Regions from separate parts of the Homo sapiens genome. Here regions 2 and 3 are each linked to region 1. The links are contacts of gene promoters, found by promoter capture Hi-C in blood cells and fetal thymus (Javierre and others, 2016). All regions are on one chromosome and are shown on one strand. The core of a region is centred on a gene start or on the middle of the fragment in contact, and the rest is flanking DNA. Distances in the headings are between cores, read along the strand shown.

What was found. The method cuts DNA at HindIII sites, captures the fragments that hold promoters and counts their contacts. A CHiCAGO score of 5 or more calls a contact.
Region 2: a fragment that was not itself captured here is called in contact with the fragment with the promoter of FITM2 in region 1 in 1 of 17 cell types (naive B cells); the score reaches 5.7 in naive B cells.
Region 3: a contact is called between a fragment that was not itself captured here and the fragment with the promoter of FITM2 in region 1, in 1 of 17 cell types (naive B cells). The highest score is 5.6, in naive B cells.

The regions. Positions count from the first base shown.
Region 1 is chr20:44,308,306-44,313,209 of GRCh38, forward strand. FITM2 (fat storage inducing transmembrane protein 2) reads right to left here and starts at 2,897. Exons shown (of 2, transcript NM_001080472.4): 1 at 2,671-2,897. The coding sequence starts at 2,843. RefSeq lists enhancers at 1,744-2,473, 2,420-2,509, 2,474-3,203, 2,800-2,949. The HindIII fragment of the contact is 15,971 bases long and covers 1-4,904 here.
Region 2 is chr20:44,865,519-44,870,422 of GRCh38, forward strand. No RefSeq gene overlaps it. Among named protein-coding and RNA genes, the nearest start is that of YWHAB, 18 kb to the right of the region's middle. The HindIII fragment of the contact is 2,555 bases long and covers 1,527-4,081 here.
Region 3 is chr20:44,849,973-44,854,876 of GRCh38, forward strand. No RefSeq gene overlaps it. Among named protein-coding and RNA genes, the nearest start is that of YWHAB, 33 kb to the right of the region's middle. The HindIII fragment of the contact is 711 bases long and covers 1,868-2,578 here.

The DNA.
Region 1 (4,904 bases), core at 1,647-4,146:
TACCAAATGCCAGGAGCTTTCACACACATTCACTTTCCCATAGAGCACTCACATTTACCCTGGGAGGAAGGTGCCATTGTTCCATTTTATAGACAAGAAATCTAAGGCTCAGAAAAGTTCAGTACCTTGCCAGGGTCACACTCACACAACCAGCATGAACAGATTAAACCACGGTTTGGATAGCCCCCAGACTCATGCTGTTTCTCCCATACCATATGTGGTTTTTTATTTTTTATTTTTATTTTTCTGAGACAGGATCTCACTCTGTCCCCCAGGCTTGCGTGCAGTGGCACAATCACACCTCACTGCAGCCTCAAACTCCTGGGCTCAAGCAATCCTCCTGCCTCAGCCTCACAAATAGCTGGGATTACAGGTGTGTACCAATGTGCCTGGCTAATTTTTTTTAATTATTATTTTTGTGGAGATGGGGCCTTGCTATGTTGCCCCCACTGGTCTTGAACTCCAGGCCTCAAGCAATTATCCTGCCTCAGCCTCCCAAAGTGCTGGGATTATAGATATGAGCCATGCACCTGGCCTGGTTCTTTCCTAATGGCAGAAACAGTCTTACAACAATGAGCTTTACTTTAAGCCAAAGACACGGGTTCAACTCTTGACTCTGACTTAACTTATTATACCTCCTACCTCTCCAGCCCTCAGTTTCTTCAGCTATTAAACAGAGCTGGGGGGACCAAATGATTTTTTTTTTTTTGAGACAGAGTTTTCACTCTTATTACCCAGGAGTGCAGTGGCACGATCTCGGCTCACTGCAACCTCCGCCTCCCGGGTTCAAGCAATTCTCCTGCCTCAGCCTCCGGAGTAGCTGGGATTACAGGCACCTACCACCACACTCGGCTAATTTTTGTATTTTTATTTTTATTTATTTATTTATTTTGAGACAAAGTCTCACTCTGCCATCCAGGCTGGAATGCAGTGGCATGATCTCAGCTCACTGCAACCTCCGCCTCCCAGGTTCAAGTGATTCTCTTGCCTCAGCCTCCTCAGTAGTTGGAATTACAGGCACGCACCACCACGCCAGGCTAATTTTTGTATTTTTAGTAGAGATGGGGTTTCACCACGTTGGCCAGGCTGGTCTTGAACTCCTGACCTCAAGTGATCCACCTGCCTTGGCCTCCCAAAGTGCCTGGATTACAGGTGTGAGCCACTGCGCCCAGCCTGGTTCTTTCCTAACGGCAGAAACAGTCTTGCAACAAGGTCTTACTTTAAGCCAAAAGACCGGGGTTCAAATCTTCACTCTTACGGGTTCAAATCTTCACTCTTACTTAACTTACTATACCTCCTACCTTTCCAGGCCTCAGTTTCTTCAGCTATCAAACAGAGCTGAGAGGACCAAATGATTTTTAAGGTCCCTTCTATATCCCAGGATTCACTAGTTCCCTCTCATTAATCAGCACAGAGGCTTGGAACAAAACTCCAGGATCCATGACTACCTTCAAACAACAGGGGTGTGTTGTCAGCCAGGCCACTTGGCTCCCAGCTCACCTAGGCCAGAGGAAGCAGCAGCTGCCTTGTCCGCCTCCCCAGCGTTCACGAAAGGTGGCTGACCTAAACCCAGGACAGAGACTTGGGGCCACTACCACTCTCATGATCTATTCTTAGCCCAGCCTCTCAGGGTGGGTGAGGAAGGAAGGTGGACCAAGGACAGAAGGACTTTTTTCTAGGTTCCAATGGATTCTCAGGCACCACCCCCAGGCCTGTCACTAAAATCTTCACTGGGACTGATAAGGAAGATCTTGCCAGAGCCAAGACCCGTCAGGCATTTGAGGAAGCTGCCTGTGAAAGGAACCAGGGTTTTAAGCAGATAACCAAAGTTGGGCTGACTTTCAGGACACGCCAGAGACACTTATTCTGGAAAACACTTAGGCTCACATCAAGGGAGCAGTTTTATCTTTCAGAGTTTCCCTTTATGACCGCAACAGAGTTTTTGTGCAATAAACTTACTAACCGGGAGTTTTGAAAAAAGCAAGTAAGCAAGCAAAGGAGTGGATGGGTGGAGTTAAGGAGATGTCTCAAAGCGCCCAGCTGGGATTGCTTTTCTGGGCCACTGCCATGCATTCTGAGTGGCTGAGATGATCCAAGGAGATCCAGGGGAAAGGGCACAGACTAGGGGGTTCCAGCCCTCTGTGAGTATCTCACAGGCGGGGGCTCTGCCTGTCACAGGCTGGGGCGAGGCTCTTCCACAGGTCGTAAAGGGATTCTGTCACGCGCTGGAGGGATCTGATCTGACGCAGGGTGGGGTCTGCGCGGGGTCTGCCACAGGCAGGCAGGACAGAGGTGAGATGGCATCTCCCAAACAGGGCAGGGGTCAGCTCCTAACTCCAAGGGGAGGCGGGGGAGTGGTGACAGGGGCTGGTTCATCCCCACCCCATTCCACACCCCTACATATACAGAGACACACACGACCCCGCTTGTCACCACCTGCCCAGTCAAGCTCATGCTGCCCAAAGTGGGTCTGCAAACACTAACTGCTAGTGACACCAGCTACCCCGGGGCCTCCCAGGCGTGACACGCGTGCAGATGCTGCTGTCACGGCTAGGAGGAGGACCTCCCCTCCAATGACTCGTCCACCACGGCAGCTAGCACCGGCTTCTCTGGGCGAGGCGACAGCGGGCCGGCTCGGGCGGGGACAGCGGAGGACCGGGGTGCACTCACACGTTGAGGACGTTGCGCTTGTTGCTGAGGTAGCTCTCGGGCAACGGGGACAACTCCTTGAGGAGGGAGCCCGCCAGCATGGAGGCCACCAGGGCCCAGGGCAGGTAGCGCCGCACGGCCGCCCGCACCAGCGTCCCCCGCAACAACCACTCGCAGCGCTCCAGATGCTCCATGCCGGATCTCGTCAGCCACCGTCCTCCTCTCCGTGCCCTCTCGGCCACCGTATCGCCCTTCGCCCGGACCTGCGCCTCCACCTCCCTTCGAGCGCATGCGCACTGCCCGCGAGTCCCACAGCTTGAGGCGTGCTTGGGCTCCGGAGCCCGCGCGCTCCCCCTCGTGGCCGCTGCTGCCTCTGGCGCGTGACGGTCCCCGAACTCGCTCGTCTCCTCTGCGCTCTCCTGGCCGCCTCCTCTCCCCGAGCCTCCGCGTCTTGCTCTGGTCTGGGAAAAAGCGCTTGTGAAAGTATTTGCTGGAGGCTGGAAGAGGATAAATGTAGCCCTGGAGAATTGGAGCAGTAGTCACAGCATCATTTGATCTTTCTTGGAGCCTCGGAGACACCTCTGCCATCTGAGTCTTAGTTTTCTCATCTGTAAAATGCGAGAGACAAGAGGAGATCAACCTTTCCCAAAAGCTAGTTTATGAGCTCAGGGGTTCATTACGTTGGCACACGTAGAGGGACATGAGATGAAGTTTCCTTAGGAATAATTATTGTATTTATTTATTTATTAGTTAGTTGGGGGGGGGTCCCTCTCTGTCGCCCAGGCTGGAGTGCAATGGCACCGTCGCAGCTCACCGCAACCTCAAATTTCTGGTCTCAAGCAATACTCCCACCTCAGCCTCCCGAGTAGCTGGGACCACAGGCGGGCACCACCACACCTGGCTAATTTTTTTTATTTTTATTTCTGTAGAGACAGGGTTTTGCTTCGTTGTCGAGGCTGGTCTCAAACTCCTGGGCTCAAGCGATCCTCCTGCCTCGGCTTCCTAAAATGCTGCAATTACAAGTGTGAGCCACCACGCTCTGCAGTTATTAAATTAATTAATTAATATAATTAATTTATTTAGAGACATAGTCTCGCTCTGTTGCCCAGGCTGGAATGCAGTGGCGCGATCTCAGCTCACTGCAGGCCTCTGCCTCCCAGGTTCAAGCGATTCTCCTGCCTCAGCCTCCCGAGTAGCTGGGATTACAGGCACGCACCACCACACCCAGCTAATTTTTGTATTTTTAGTAGAGATGGGGTTTCACCATGTCGGCCAGGCTGACCAACTCCTGTCCTCAAGTGATCTGACCTCTCCAAATCTTAACCTCAAGTGATCTGCCAGCCTTCACCTCCCAAAGTGCTGAGATTACAGGAGTGAGCCATCTCACCTGGTGCAATTATTACATTTAAAGTTTAAATTTCTAAATTTATTTTCACCTGGGCAACACAGTGAGACTCAGTATCTATAAGAAATAATTTTAAAAACTAGCTGACTTGGTGGCTCAGGCCTGTGGTCCCAGCTACTCAGGAGGCTGAGGTGGGAGGATTGCTTGAGCCCAGGAATTTGAGGTTGCAGTGAGCTGTGATGGTCCCATTGCACTCCAGCCTGGGCCACGGAGCGAGACCGTCTTAAAAAGCACACAAAGAAACACAAAACAGCTATCTATGCCTGTTGGATGAAAATGCTGGATGCTGGGGGTTAATGGGGAGATCACATGAAGTTGTTGGAGACTCAGTTGCTCAGTTTATCACAAAACTAACCCCTCACCCCTGGTTAGGGCTGGGTGTCTATTTCAGTTCCCAACCTTGGACTCATTCCCTTACCCCAATGTTAGTTTCCTGTGGCAGCTCTAATAAATTACTATAAACTCAGTTTATTTTTATTCCTTTTTTTTTCTTTAGTTTTAAATAGAGATGGGGTCTCACTATGTTGCCCAGGTTGATCTCGAACGCCTGGGCTCCAGTGATCCTCCTGCCTCGGCCTCCCAAAGTGCTAGGATTACAGGTGCGAGCCACCGTGCCCAACCCTAAACTTGTTTTAAACAACAGAAGTTTATTCCAAAAGCCACAAACCCAGCCAATACACACATATATAGTCATATCAAGAGATGGGCATTTTAGGCCAGACGTGGTGGCTCACGCCTGTAATCCCAGCACTTTGGGAGGCCAAGCTATTTTGATCTTGGCTCACTGTAACCTCTGCCTCCCGGGTTCAAGGTAGTCTCCTGCCTCACCCTCCCAAGCAGCTGGGACTAC
Region 2 (4,904 bases), core at 1,554-4,053, 560 kb after region 1:
CTATTAGTTCTGTCCCTCTAGAGAACCCTAATACACTATCTCATAAAATAAATTAAAAATTAAAGAGGAAGAAACTGAGGATCAAAGAAGTTAAGTAATTTCTTTAGAGTCCCACAGCCACGGAATAGAGAAGTTAGAATTTGAATGGCTCAAATTTTGTTTTACTTTTGTTATTTTTTTGTTATTGCTTTTCTCATTTGGCTTGCAATAATGTTCTTAATTTTGCTTTTTCCCACTTTCCTGATTTAAATGCTCCCTATAAAAATTTAAATATATAAAGTTATAAGGAAGAAAGTAACATTCTTTGAAATCTCATCAGCATATAATAACTACTGTTAATATTTTACTGGGCATCTTTCATGCCTGTCTTAACGCGTATGGGCAATAGAAGTAACCTTTTTCATAAATCATAACAAATAATACACATTCTTTTAATCAAGAGCACCCTTTTTAAGTGTGATTTTTTTTTCTTATCTATCCTTTTCTTCTTCCTTTTCTGACCTCCATTAATCTCCCTTACTTACTCCACACTTTCTGGCTCACGATAACCCCTGTTAACAACTGATGTGTACACTTGCAGAATTTTCTCCAAGCCAATATAATTATACATTTCTTTATAGAAGTCCTGTTTTTAACTCTTGCAATATTCATATTAAAGGACACTAATGGGCTGTGCGCAGTGGCTCGTGCCTGTAATCTCAGCACTTTGGGAGGCCGAGACGGGAGGATCATTTGAGGTCAGGAGTTCGAGACCAGTCTGGCCAACATGGTGAAGTCTCATCTCTACAAAAATATATAAAACTTAGCCTGGCACGGTGGCATGCACCTGTGGTCCCAGCTGCTCAGGAGGCTGATGCTGGAGAATTGATTGAACCCAGGAGGCAGAGGTTGCAGTGAGCCCAGATCGCGCCACTGCACTCCAGTCTAGATGACAGAGTGGGACCCTGCCTCAAAAAAAAAAAAAAAAAGAAAAGAAAAGAAAAGAAAAGAAAAGAAAAGAAATAAAGGACACCAGTGGTGGCATTTGGGGCACCAGACAGTAACTGTTGAAAGAGATTTCAGCCATAGAAGGAGCCCTTCTTGACACCCCTAAAATTGCACTGCTGAGGTGATTGTCACGTGAGCTCACCCCGTCACAGTTCTGGAGTGAGCGTGAGAAGGCTGAGGGTGAGCACCTCTGTCCCCACCAAAGAAATGGATCGCCAGGCCCTGGTCTCGTGGTTTCCAGGTTTGCTTGCAGGCCTGCCTGCGAAGCTCAAGGAACTGCAGAGTCACTTCTGTCTGGAGCTCCTGAATGCAGTCCAGCTAACCTTCCCTACCCGGAAGCCCTTCAACATCTTTTCTCCATTCCCTTTACGGGTTTTATTCTTCTTTTGCCTGCTCAGCAATTTTCACCAGTCCAAGGACCGAATGCTCTGCTCTCAGATCAATAGCCCTTGGGAAGTACTGCAGACAGTCTCTGAGATGCACCCTAGCTGCTCCTGCAAAGGAATTGCTTTCTTTCTGACTCAGTTTCACTTGAATTAAGCTTCTTCTGCTTTATGAAAGCAGCCTCCTTCCAGAGCACAAGTTGACATCAACCCAGAACCAGAAAGAAATCAGTGGCTGGAACTTGTCTTATTCATCTCTGGAAAGTCCAGCTCTCCAGCAGAGGCTTAGAATTCTATTTCCTTTTTTGTTTCTTAGTCATTGCGCTTGAGAAGGCATTTAAAGATGCTCTTTGGCTAGAGTAAGTGCTCAGTAAGCATTTGTTGGCGAAGGGATAAAACAGTAAAGATGGAATAATCAGCATTTGGTAAATGGTTGGTGAAGGAGAATCAAATGAGATAACACATGTGAAATTGATATGTAATCTGTGAATAGTGAAAATTGTTCCTGGCCAGGCGTAGTGGCTCACACCTGTAATCCCAGCACTTTGGGAGGCCGAGGTAGGCGGATCACTTGAGGCCAGGAGTTCAAGACCAGCCTGGCCAACATGGTGAACCCCCCCCCTATTAAAAATACAAAAATGAGCCAGGCGTGGTGGCACATGACTGTAATCCCAGCTACTTGGGGGGCTGAGGCAGGAGAATCCCTCAAACCTGGGAGACGGAGGTTGCAGTGAGCCGAGATCGTGCCATTGCACTCCAGCCTGGGCGACAGAGCGAGACTCCATCTCAAAAAAAAAGAAAAAGAAAAAGAAAAAGAAAAAGAAAACCAAAGGGACTCGTCCGCAGCGTTATCTGCTGGCGCCATCTTCCGGAAATAAGTTAGCACAACAGGTCTATTTCTGTTTCAGCGGGGCGTGAGGGCACTGGAAATGCAGGCAAGGAGGGGAAAAGAGAGAATGAATTTTAGCAAAATCTCTCCATCTCCTCTGTCCTGGATCATCTAATTACTCTACCAAGATTATCATTTTAATGTAATAGTACTACTAACATGCTAGCACTTGTTTTGAGCACCTAGTACGTACCAGATACTGTGCTCAGTGTTTTACATGTGTTATTTCATCCTCACAGTAACTGCAAGAAGTGTATATAGTAAGTCCTCACTTAACTTCTTCGATGGGTTCTTGGAAACTGCGACTTTAAGCAAAATGATGTGCAGCACGTCCTCAAGTAATGTCCTTCCATTATGATTATGAGGGAAAAAATGGTTTCATCATACATCATTTCACTTAAAGTTGCAGTTTCCAAGAAACTATCAACATTCAGTTGATATTAAAAACCCGAGGCATACAAGGTGTATAGTGGACTTATCATCTCTAGGATTACATATCTAGTTGGTGTTTGGGATAAGACTGAAACCCAGTTCTGTCTGACTTCAGAGCCTGTGGTGGGCTGTTGTGAGTCAGGTCCCGAGGAATCAGACTCCAATATGGAGATTTGAAGTCAGGAAGTCTATTGCAGAGTGCTGTCGGGATTACATCTGTGGAAAGGAAAAGTCAAACTGCAGTGCAACCTCAGCAGAGGCCTTGGCTAATGCCATGGGGAATATAGAGCTGGGATGGCAAGAGGACAGGACCTTGGAATGTCCACCTCGAACAGTCATAGGGACTCAGCTGAGAGCTGCCAGCAGCCAATGCTCCCAGCAGCTGGGGGAATAAATGCCCCATCCTGGGGATGGGGGTCTGGGTGGCACACCACAGTATGCACTGCAGCGCCCACTACCTATTCCCCATGCATTGCTCCTCAAATAAGGGAGATGGCTGGGAGGGAGACAACATCAGTGATGGGGTAGTGGAGGAGGAATTCAGAGAGTAAAAATGGTTTTGTCTGTCTTCCATCCACCTGTGACCTAGGCTATGCATGCCATCCAGCTGCAATAACCAATACATTTGGGTCATTCATGTTGATATAATGTATGGATTATTTTATGGGTTGCAAGCCATTAACAAATAAATAAAATGCAATATTCCACTGGCTGATTGGAGATGCATTCTTTGACATTCTCAAATAAGAAATGGAAGAATTGGCCAGGCACAGTGGCTCACGCCTGTAATCCTAACCCTTTGGGAGTCCAAGGCTGGGGGATCACTTGAGGTCAGGTGTTTGAAACCAGCCTGGCCAACATGATGAAACCCCATGTCTACTAAAAATACAAAAAAAAAAAAGCCAGGCGTGGTGGTGGGCGCCTGTAATCCCAGCTACTTGGGAGGCTGAGGCAGGAGAATCACTTGAACCCAGGAGTCGGAGGTTGCAGTGAGCCGAGATCATGCCACTACACTCCAGCCTGGGCGATAGAGTGAGATTCCATCTGAAAAATAAAAATAAAAATAAAATAAAAAGGAGATGGTGCCTTCTGCCCTGGGGTTAAAAAAATTAAAAAATTAAATTAAAAAGAGATGGATCTATTTGTATAATATGGAAAGACCTCTAAGACATATTTTTGCATGAAGAAATAAGATTCAGTACCCTAATAAACTATATAAAAATTATATCTATTTCTAGAGTTTTACATACACTATAAAAGGATGGAATTTTACCGACTTGCCCTATGGAAGGATTCTACATCCCCACCCCACGTAAGTCAGGCATAGCCATATGATTTGCTTTGGCCAAGGGAATTTGAGTGGAAGTGACATGTGAGACATCCAAGCAGAAGCTTTAAGAGGCTCCCCCATTCTCTCTTTTCCTTATTCCATGAGATCAGCATGTTCCAGCTGCTTCTTCCAGCTGTGTCCAGAGATACAGCTGAATTCAACCCATCACAAACATGCAATTAAGATATAAATTTTTAGGCTGGGCGCAGTGGCTCACGCCTGTAATCCCAGCACTCTGGGAGGCTGAGGCAGATGGATTGCTTGAGCTGGGGAGTTCGAGACCAGCCTGAGCAACATGGTAAAACCCTGTCTCCACAAAAACCACAAAAAATTAGCTGGGCCTTGTGGCACACATCTGTAGTCCCAGCTACTTGGGAGGCTGAGATGAGAGGATCACCTGAGCCCAGGAGGTCGAGGCTACGGTGAGCCATGATCATGCCACTGCACTACAGCCTGGGAGACAGAGTGAGACCCTGTCTCAACAAAAAAACAAACAAACAAAAGACATAAACTTTTATTAATATAAGACACTGAGACTTTGAGGATGTTGTTATTGTAGGTTATTGTAGCATAACCTAACCTACCATCACTGATAATACATGTTGCTATATATAACTGATATGTGGTTACTTCTGGGGAGGAGAAATGGCATTGGGAGGTGGCGATCATAGGGAATTTTAGTTTTTAATCTTTAATATTTTAGTTTTCTTACAATAAAAATATATCCACACATTACTATGTAATAAATATACATTATTTTAAAATGAATACAGCAGGTATTTCCCTACTTAAAATTAAATGCCAAAAAATATCTTTTTTTTTTAGACCGAGTCTCGCTCTGTTGCCCAGGCTGGAGTGCAATGGCATAATCTCGGCTCACTGC
Region 3 (4,904 bases), core at 973-3,472, 540 kb after region 1:
CCACCCTCTGTGTAATTTGGCTTTTCACTTGGATCTGCCTTCAGGAAAGAATGTGCTGGTTTTGCTGAGTAGATGTCAGTCTGCTTAACAATTATATTTCATGTTATCAATGAATACATTGACATTCCGATTTTCCATCTCAGTCTCATGAGCTTGGTAAATGTAATTCCACTTCTGAGGGAAGACATCAGCTGCTAAACTTGTGTAGAATCAAACAAATCTTGGTTACAGAAGTGTGAAGTCACAATTGAATTTGATAAGAAGACTTGTAAGAGACGGGAAATAATTTGGAGGACATAAGTACCTGGAGAATTTTAAATACTGCACTGAAATTGCCCTCTCAGCAAGATAAGCAAGAGAAGGTTATGTAGAATGTTAACATTGCTGTGACTGTAATAGAACAATATGCCAAGGGCGTTGTTGGAAATTGGTCTGGTGGGGCAAAAGCCACAGGATAGATGAAAACTATACGTGCCCCAGAAGAGTGGCTATCTTAGAGCTTACTGACTGGGAGGGGAATGAGGGAGCCTTCTGGAATGCTGGGAATGTTCTATATTTTAATCTGGTGGCGGTTTCACAGGTATATGCATGTGTGCTATTTCATTCTGCCATGCTGGTAAGATATGGCACTTTATCTTATAACTGTATGTAAGCTATTTCTTATTTGTTTCTTAAAAAAGAAAGGAATCATGAGGGAAATGCAAATCAAACCACAATGAGATATCATCTCACACTCTTTAGGATGGCTACTATCAATAAGTCAAAAAAAAAAAAAAAACAAGTGTTGTATAGGATGTAGAGAAATTGGATCCCTTGGGCACTGTTTTTGGGAATGTGAAATGATGCGGCCACTATGGAAAACAGAATGGCAGTTCCTCAAAAAATTAAAAAAACAGAATTACCATATGATGCAGCCATTTGCCTTCTGGGTATATATTCAAAAGAATTGAAAACAGAGTTTTAAAGAGATATGTGTACACCAATGTTCACAGCAACATTATTCATAATAGCCAAAAGTGGAAGCAACCCAAGTGTCCATTGATGAATAAATGAATGAACAGAGTGTGATACATGCATACAATGGAACATTCTTCAGTCTTAGAAAGGAAGCAAATTCTGACCCATGCTACAACGTAAGTGAACCTTGCAGACACAATGCTAAGTGAAATAAGCCAGTCACAAAAAGACAAATACCTTATGATTCCACTTATATGAGGTACCTAGATTAGTCAAATTCACAGAGGCAGAAAGTATAATGGGGGTTGCCAGGGGCTGGGTGGAGGGAAGAATGGGGAGATATTGTCAAATAAGTACAGAGTTTCAGTTTTGCAAGACTAAAAGAGGTTTTTGGATGGATGGTGGCGATGGCACAATAGTACGAATGCAGTTAATACCACTGAACTGTACATTTGAAAATTGTTAAGATGGTAAGTTTTATGTTATGAGTATTTTACCATAATTTTTAAAAAGTAAGAAATAATATATATATAAATTTTTCCTGATTATATTACAGTTGTTCATTTTTCCTCATGTTCAGCAATATTTAATGAGAAGACACGTGGCTTTCTGAGAGATACTGCTGTAGGACTACACAGATTGTAAATACAATCTTTAAACCATAAAACTCGTAACTGTTTAACTAGTTGTTATAAAACATGTTTGTTAAAGAAAACTTTACATGGCCACTTGAGTTGTAGAAAGCAGAGGCGACCAGTTTTGTGTGGTTATTTTTGCCCAATAAAGAAGGTGTAAATTTTTCACTGGGCAGAGAGCATTGCTGAATACACAGTCGTGCTGGGGCCTCCCAGTGGTTGGTACTATAGAGATGGAAGTTGCCTTTGATAGATCTGATCCAGCCACCATGGCAAGCTTTGTTTCTCCCACACCTGCAAGATTGAGAGCTAGGCTTGAGCAAATATGCTGCATTAAGGAAATCCAACCTAAGAGGTATCTTGGAAGACAGACAGCTTCAGCAGGCCACACTTCTCCACCCTGGTGAACTTCTATATCTGCACTAAATATGTATTACTTCTTTAATGAAAAAAAAACTCATACTTTTAATCAATCACTTACATAGTGCTTGCTATGTACCATTCACTGTCCTTAGTATTTTATAAACATTAATTTACTGGCCAAGCATGGTGGCTCACACCTGTAATCCCAGCACTTTGGGAGGCCAAGGAAGGTGGATTACATGAGGTCAGGAATTTGAGACCAGCCTAGCCAACATGGTGAAACCCCGTCGCTACTAAAAATAGAAAAAAAATTAGCTGGGCCTGGTGGTGTGTGCCTGTAATCCCAGCTACTTGGGAGGCTGAAGCAGGAGAATCGCTTGAACCCAGGACACAGAGGTTGCAGTGGGCCGAGATCACACCACTGCACTCCAGTCTGGATGACAGTACGGGACTCCGTCTCAAAAACAAACAAACAAAAAAACATTAATTTATTTAACTCTCATAACAACCCTAAGAAGGTACCTAATATTAGTACCTAAGAGGTAGGCACTAATAGTGCCATCATCATATTCTACAAATGAGGAGGTTGAAGCACAGAGTGGTCAAGTAACCAGCCCAAGGAAAGCTTACAAATGGCAGAGCTGGGACTTGAACCCAGGCAGTTAGCACCTGTGCCTGTGCTGTCAACAATTATGCTGCCTCCAAATCAGGCAGAATGAATTTCTTGGTGCTGGGGGGTATCCAAGTTCATTGGTGCTGCTATAGCAAAATAGCTGAGACTGGGTAATTTATAAAGAAGATAAATTTATTTTTTCACAGTTCTGGAGGCTGGGAAGTCCAAGATCAAGATACAGATACTAGCAAATTTGGCGTCTGGTAAGGGCTGCTCTCTGCTCTCATGATGGCACCTTCTTTGTTGCTTGAGATGGACTCTCACCCTGTTGCCCAGGCTGGAGTGCAGTGGCATGATCTCAGCTCACTGCAACCTCCGCCTCCCAGGTTCAAGTGATTCTCATGACATAGCCTCTCAAGTAGCTAGGATTACAGGCAGAGGCCATCACACTTGGCTAATTTTTGTATTTTTAGTAGAGATGGGGCTTTGCTGTGTTGGCCAGACTGGTCTCGAACTCCTGGCCTCAAGTGATCCGCCCGCTTCACCCTCCCAAAGTGCTGGGATTACAGGTGTGAGCCACTGCGTCCGGCCTCATGATAGCATCTTCTTGCTGCATCTTCACATGGTGGAAGGGGGCAAAAAAGGATGAATACTGTGTCCTCACATGACAGAAGAGATGGAAGGTCTAAAAGGGCCTAGCTAGTTCTTTTATAAGGGCACTAAGCCCATTCATGAAGGTAGATCCCTTATGTCTTAATCACCTCCTAAAGTCCCCACCTCTTCATACTATCACAACAGGTCTTAGGTTCCAACTTATAAATTCAGGGGAGACACACACACTCAAACCATAGCAAGGAGAGAACACCTTCATGTTTCCTTTCTCCTTTTTCTCTCTCCTTTCCCCACCCTTCTTGGTCCTTAATTTCAAGGAGGGGAAATTGTGCAATTTTGATCTAGATTGGTCAAATCCTACATTATAAAGGATTTTTTTCCCGGGACGGTTTTGAAGAGAGTTAACAGGTCTATAGCAGTGTTTTTCAGACTTTCAGATCTTCCAGATGTATAATTTTTTTCTCAAAAGTGTTGGGCAAAGACTTCTGCTGTCAGTAATGATAGAGTAATAGAGACCAGATTGATCCTCCCTTAAACAATTAGGAAAACAGGCAAAATGATATGAAACAATGCTTTCCATATACTGGACAACAGACAATGAAGACTATGATTCCTGAGAGAAAAAAAATGAGATGAGCCTTAAGATCACCCCTTCCTGTGTGGAGACAGTTTTCACAATGCAGCTCATAGAAGGGAAACTCAAGCAGAATGGCCAAAGTGGCTAGAATTTACAGGTAAGAGTGTTGAAGAGGAGTCCAGAGTTCTCAACCTCAGAGATCTCCAAGGGGCCCTCTTGAGTCTTTGGCTGTGTACTGATTTACACATATGTGAGAAAAAGTACCCAAGGCCGGGGGGGAATCTGCTGGAAAGCAGTAGGCTAAAGAGCTCATATAAGGTGAGAAATTGTTTGTGATTCCAACAGTTAAAATGCAGACACTTCTTAATATATCGGGCATCAAGCAGAGCCCTCATAAGGAGACTCATCTCAGTCATGAGGCTAAATTAGCCGTAGACCAAAGGCTATTCAGAACCTGCCTCTGAAAATCTTAAAAGCAAGGCTAAAATGAACCTAGATGATCCCATGTAATTTAACAGTGTCCCAAAACAAAGTTCAATACTACTTAAAGAAACACAATAAAATCCAGCACCCAATTACAAAATTTACAATATCCAGTGCTATTCAATGAACTGTTCTCCCTCAAATTCATATGTTGAAACCAATGTGATGGTAATTGGAGATGGTGTCTTTGGGGGGTAACTGAGTCATGAGGGCAGAGACCTCATGACAGGATTAGTGCCCTTACAAGAAGAAGCACGAGATCTTTCTTTCTCTCTCTCTCTCTCTACCCCCAACCCCCTGCCCGCCACCATGTGAGGATACAACAGAAAGGCAGCCACCCGCAAGACAGGAAGAAGGCTCTCACCAGAACCTAACCATTCTGGCACCTGATTGTAGACTTCCCAGGCTCTAAAATGGTGAGAAATAAATGTCTGTTCTTTAAGCTATATGCAGTATCACATTTTGTCATAGCAGCCTGAGCTGACTCAAACATTTGCATTCTTGGCCGGGCATGATGGCTCAAGCCTGTAATTCCAGCACTTTGGGAGGCTGAGGCAGGCGGATCACTTGAGACCAGGAGTTTGAGACCAGCCTGGCCAACATAGTGAAATCTCCTCTCTACTAAAAATACAAAAGAAATACCTGGGCATGGTGGTGGGCACCT